2 separate regions of the Homo sapiens genome follow, and region 1 is linked to region 2. The links are contacts of gene promoters, found by promoter capture Hi-C in blood cells and fetal thymus (Javierre and others, 2016). All regions are on one chromosome and are shown on one strand. The core of a region is centred on a gene start or on the middle of the fragment in contact, and the rest is flanking DNA. Distances in the headings are between cores, read along the strand shown.

Evidence for each region. The method cuts DNA at HindIII sites, captures the fragments that hold promoters and counts their contacts. A CHiCAGO score of 5 or more calls a contact.
Region 1: a fragment that was not itself captured here is called in contact with the fragment with the promoter of PTPRN in region 2 in 2 of 17 cell types (M0 macrophages and fetal thymus); the score reaches 5.9 in M0 macrophages.

What each region holds. Positions count from the first base shown.
Region 1 is chr2:219,172,818-219,175,768 of GRCh38, reverse strand. It overlaps CNPPD1 (cyclin Pas1/PHO80 domain containing 1), which reads left to right. Exons shown (of 8, transcript NM_015680.6): 3 at 97-178; 4 at 661-781; 5 at 863-991; 6 at 1,562-1,623; 7 at 2,302-2,419; 8 at 2,641-2,951. Among named protein-coding and RNA genes, the nearest start is that of CNPPD1, 2.6 kb to the left of the region's middle. The HindIII fragment of the contact is 3,353 bases long and covers 1-2,951 here.
Region 2 is chr2:219,308,142-219,311,138 of GRCh38, reverse strand. PTPRN (protein tyrosine phosphatase receptor type N) reads left to right here and starts at 1,738. Exons shown (of 23, transcript NM_002846.4): 1 at 1,738-1,921. The coding sequence starts at 1,807. The HindIII fragment of the contact is 26,349 bases long and covers 1-2,997 here.

The sequences.
Region 1 (2,951 bases), core at 322-2,821, 140 kb after region 2:
GAAAATACAGATCTGGGTCTTCTGCTAGCAGTGGGGACTGGTGTGTTGGGTGTGGGTGCTTGTTTGCTCACTCGGCCTTCCTTCTGTCCCTTGCAGACATTGCTGTCGAACTGCTCCAGAAGGCAGCCCCCAGCCCTATTCGCCGACTCCAGAAGAAATATGTAGCTCATGTGTCCCGGTGAGCCTGGAAATGAGGATAGGATGAGAGTGTTTGGGCCCTAGAGAAAGGGGAATCGTCTTTTCTTTCTTTTCTTTCTTTCTTTTTTTTTTTTTTGAGACAGTCTCACTTTGTCACCCAGGCTGGAGTGCAGTGGCACAATCTCGGCTCACCGCAACCTCCGCCTCCTGGGTTCCAGTGATTCTTGTGCCTCAGCCTCCCCAGTAGCTGGGACTACAGGCACACACCACCGCCCCTGGCTAATTTTTGTATTTTTAGTAAAGACGGGGTTTCACCATGTTGGCCAGGCTGGTGTCAAACTCCTGGTGTCAGTCCACCCACCTTGGTCTTCCAAAGTGCTGGGATTACAGACATGAGCCACCGTGCCCAGCCAGGAATAGTTTTTTTCCAAAGATAAGAGGTAAAGACAGGAACGAGCATCATAAGACTTGCAAGAGCTGAAGGACCCTTGGGTTTAATTAGTGATCCTTTCTACCACCCAGGGAGGCATGCATCTCCCCATGTGCTATGATGCTGGCTCTGGTGTACATTGAACGGCTCCGGCACCGAAACCCAGACTACTTGCAGCATGTGTCATCCTCTGACTTGTTCCTGATCTCCATGGTAAGACACCCCCTCCCCATCTCCCTAAAGAGCCAAGAGCCTGCTATGAGCTCTGCTCCACCACTTCTGGTTCCTCTGCAGATGGTGGCCAGTAAGTACCTCTATGATGAAGGGGAGGAGGAGGAGGTCTTCAACGACGAATGGGGAGCTGCTGGGGGTGTGGCCGTGCCCACTCTCAATGCCTTGGAGAGGGGCTTCCTGAGTGCCATGGTGAGCAGCTGTTCTCTCTCTTGCTCAGTTTCCCTGGCCCATCTTTAACCGTCCTTTAGTCCTTTGTTCTCTCTCAGTCTTCTGTTGGTTCGTCATTTCTCTTCCTGTCCTCCTCCTGCCTTTGTGTTAGTGTCTTCCTTTCCTATCTCTTCAGTACTAACCAGTTTTTGGAGATTCGTAGAGCAGTAAGGCCAAGAGCAGAACATTTCCTCGCCTCCTCTATTCCTCCAGGGCCCCACAGGGTACACTCTGAGTCAGAGTTTATCCTATTGGGTTCTGAATATTTGTGTCCATACTTTCTCTGCCCCTAGATGTTTAGCTCCCTGTGGACACAGACCATTCTCAGGGTCATTTTCTCCCCTCTTGCTTAGTGGAGAGTATAATGTGAAACCAGGCAGGTGGTGATTCAATGAGTTAATGTGTAAAAACTTTTGAGACAGTATCTGGCACATGGTAAGTGCCAAATATGCATTAGCCATAGGGGCGGTTGTAGTTGCTGCTATGGCTCTTATTATTAAATGACTGTGGCTCATCCAAGTCTGGTTTGATGTCCACTCTCCGTACTCACAGGATTGGCATCTCTACACTGACCCTCGGGAGATCTTTGAGGTGCTGAGCTGGTTGGAGAGCTGGTAGGTTCTAGGAGTTGGGAAGAAGGGCTCGAGGGATTTGGGGGCTGAGTCCTCAGCCATAGGAGCTAGAGATGAGAGTCTGTGTAACTGGGGGAGGGAGGAGACAAGAAAGAGAATTGCCCAGATAGTGGTTCCCAGACCCATCTGTCCTCTTCTTCATCACCTTTGGGAAGGTGAGAAGCAGCTTATTTAAAATACATGTATTGGGTGGGTATGGTAGTTATGTCTATAATCCTAGCACTCTGGGAGGGTGAGGCTGGAGGATTACTTGGGTCCAGGAGTTCGAGACCAGCCTGGGCAATATAGCAAGATGCCTGACCCTACCAGAAAAAAATACTAGCCAGATGCAGTGGTGTACACCCATAATCCCAGCTACTCAGGAGGCTGAGACAAGAGGATCATTTGAGTCCAGGATGTTGAGTCTGCAGTGAGCTATGATTGCACTACTGCACTCCAGCCTGGGAGACAGCAAGATCCTGTCTTAACAAAATAAATAAATAAAAATAAATAAAATATAGGTCTTGGTCTCACCCTTAGTTTCTAGATCAGCAGATAGCCTAGGAATCTGGGTTTAACAGGCTTCCCAGTGTTTCCTGGTGGGTCCTGAGTGGTATGAGGGTGCCACTGGGCTGGCTGCAGGACAGTTGCATACTCTTGTCATTTCTCCACTTCCCCCAGTGTGGCTGAGCAGCAGGGACGGTGGCGAGGCTGGTACACCTACACAGACCTGTGTGTGCTGCTGGAGCAGCCGACCTGGCAGTTGGCCCTGGGCTCCCTCTGCCAGCGGCTGGTAAAGGTGAGGAGGGGCTCGGAAGGATAGGGAGCTTGAGCAGGCCGGTGTGTAGGGTGGGATGGTGTGAAGTGATTGCTGAAAAGCCCAGGAGATGGGGTTGGGAATAGATGGGCAGAGTGGGGTGTAAATGGCTATAGAGACCTCCAACTGGAACACAGATTTCTAGAGACAAGGGGTGAATGTGTTAAAGACAGATTCCTTCTTTCTTATCTCCTCTCCTGCAGCTGTCTTGCCTGTTAGCTGTGGCATATGTGAGCAGTGTGGCCCTGGCTGTGGCATCGGTGGCCGTAATACATCAGTCTTTGGGGCTGTCCTGCATCCCTACACCTGGGCCGCCTGACCTTGGACTGACCTCCCGTTGCCTCCTGGAGCCCTGCATACCTTCTGTGCCACAATGCCTGCCGTCTCTCGCTAATGTCTCCAGCTGCCTGGAAGGCAGCATGGGGCTGCGGTCACTCTGGGGCAGTCTTCTGGCCTCACTGACTCCTCCACCATTGCCTCCCCCAGACCCCCCTGCCCCTCCCACTCTTCTTCA
Region 2 (2,997 bases), core at 489-2,988:
TGCATCACGAGGTCAGGAGATCGAGACCATCTTGGCTAACACGGTGAAACCCCGTCTCTACTAAAAATACAAAAAATTAGCCGGGTGCAGTGGCAGGCACCTGTAATCCCAGCTACTCAGGAGGCTGAGGCAGGAGAATGGCGTGAACCTGGGAGGGGGAGCTTGCAGTGAGCCAAGATAGTGCCACTGCAGTCTGGCCTGGGCAAAAGAGCGCAAGACTCCTTCTCAAAAAAATAAAAAAAAAAATTTAAAAAATTATATTAAGGAATTATTGTAAATTTTTTTAGGTGTCATAACAGCACTTAGGTTATGCAGGAAAATGTCCTTATTTCTTGGAGATGCATAATGAAATATTTAGAAGAGAAATGTCATGATGTCTATCATTCATGTTTAAATACTAAAAAGAAGCAAATATTGTAAAACATCAATAACCATTAAGTATGGATGATGAGTATGTAAGTATTCATTATGCATTTCTGTCCTTTTTAAATTTTATTTTATTTTACTGGAAAGCAAGAGAGGAAGGAGATCAAATCTGAACTTAAGAAGCTCACTCCCCTACTTATTGGATGACTAGAGTGGAAGCAAAAGAGCAGTTACTAGCTGATTGCTGCAGTGGTCGTGGTGAAAGAGCACAGTGTTTCAGTTCAGGTAGTGAGGATGGACAGAAGTGGACTGATGGGAGATGTATTTTGCAGGGAGAAACCATAAAATGATTGATAGCCTCGAGGTGGCACAGACGGAGAGAAAGGAGAGTCAAAGCTAATGATGAGGCCAGGCCCGGTAGCTCACACCTGTAATCCCAGCATTTTGGGAGGCGAAGGCCGTTGGATCACCTGAGGTCAAGAGTTCAAGACCATCCTGGCCAACAAGGTGAAATCCCATCTCCAATAAAAATGCAAAAATTAGCCGGGCAAGGTGCTGTGCGCCTGTAATTCCAGCTACTAGGGAGGCTGAGGCAGGAGAATGGCTTGAACCCAGAAGGTGGACATTGCAGTGAGCCAAGATCACGCCAGTATCCAGCCTGGCCAACAGAGCAAGACTCCATCTCAATAAAAAATAAATAAAAGCTAATGATGACAGCTAATATGTATGGAGCATGTAGTATGCACCAGTCCAGTCATCCTTCTAAGTGATCCATATTAGTGTAACGAACAAAATCTTCACAATCACTGTGTGAGGCGGGTAGTAACTATTAACACCTCCACTTTGCAGATCAGGAAACTTGGACGCAGACAAGTTAAACAAGGTGCCCAAGGTCATACCCTTAGTAGATGCCCTGCTAGAACTGGAATCTAGGCATGCCTAACCATTTTTTCTTAAGGAAGAGAACAGTATCTTCAATGACAATGAGTAAGAGTACTTATTCTACCCACTTTTCTGCTTCTTGTCTTCGGGTTTATCGTTCTGGACCCACCTATCTTTCCTGGCCCCCCACTTAACTTAACCCTTTTCACCCACCCTGGGGCGGGGAGACAGAGGTGATCCTAGAAGAGGGCTACAGGGATGGGGCCAAGTGGGAATTCTAGCGAGGCGCCTACTATTTGATGGAGGAGGGATGGGCTAGGTAGGTCCCCCGCTCCGACAGGGCTCTTACGCCATATGTGACGCAAATTAGCTTACGAGCCGGGGGTGGAGGTGTCGTCAGCACCCGCCTGCGGTTGGCCGCGTTGCAGCGAGAGGGGCATGTAGACCCCGCCTCGTAGGGAGGTGGGGAGCGGCAAGCCCCGCCTCAGCCCCTCTGGCAGGCTCCCGCCAGCGTCGCTGCGGCTCCGGCCCGGGAGCGAGCGCCCGGAGCTCGGAAAGATGCGGCGCCCGCGGCGGCCTGGGGGTCTCGGGGGATCCGGGGGTCTCCGGCTGCTCCTCTGCCTCCTGCTGCTGAGCAGCCGCCCGGGGGGCTGCAGCGCCGTTAGTGCCCACGGTCAGGAGGAAACTTGGGCTGGCGGGTGGTGGGGGGCGGGGAGCAGCTTGGGGCCTGGAGCGAAACTCGGTGGGGGTGAGGGTGAAATGTCATGAAGCTCGGGGAGAATATGGGTTGGGGGAGGCATGCGAGATGAGGAAGGTGAGAGGGCGTCTCGGAGGAAAGGGGCGTAGGCCTGGAGGTGGGGCTGGGAATACGGGGGCGGGACCTAAGAGAATTGGGCTCTGGGGAAAATTGCAGGTTCGGGAGAAGGACACGGGGTGCATGTGGGCAGAGGGACTTAGAGACCGGCTGCGAGACCACAGGAGAAGCCACTTGCTCCGAGGCGCCTGGGAGGTGGTGACAGGCGCTGAGGAATGGGAAGGGGAGGTGGCGGGGAGAATGAGGGAACGGTGATCTCTGGGCAGTGGAAGCCTGGGCCGCAGACATAGAGTCCCAGCTGGGCAGAGAGAGAGGCCAGGGTTTCTCCGTAAGCCTAGAGAAGCTGATTGCAGCGATCTGATCTCCTGTAACGGGGGACAGCACGGGGAGGGGGCAGAAGAGGATGAAGAGGGGAGGGTCCTCTCTTGTCCCCCTCCCCACAGCCAGGCCTGGTGCTGACTCACATCTGTGCGGACAGAGACAGTCAGCGCTGACTCACGGACAGGGGGTGGGGGATGGGAGGGTGGCGCGTGGGGGAAGGGGCGCAGCCTCGCCGCCTGGCGCCCTCTTTCCCCACCCGGGCTTGGAGGCCCGAGAGGCAGAGTACTTCCTGTGACGCTGTGGGTTGGCAGAATACAACAGAGGGCTCAGGTCTAGTGGAGAGTCCTCGCTCTGTGACCCCTTCCTCTCTGGTAACCGCCTCCAAGGCCAGCCCTTGGCGGCGCCAGACTCAGAGCTTCAGCACCGCGGACAGCGCCAGCGGCTCGGGACAGCGCGAGGAGAGATGCCTAAGAGACACCCTCCCCAGCCCCACCCATGCCCTCTTTCCCCCGACCGGGGGAAGTGTGCTAGAACCTCTTCTGAGTTCCAGGCCATTATAGGATGCTTTTCCATATTTGGGAAGGAAATTCCTCTTTCAGAATTTGGCCAAAACC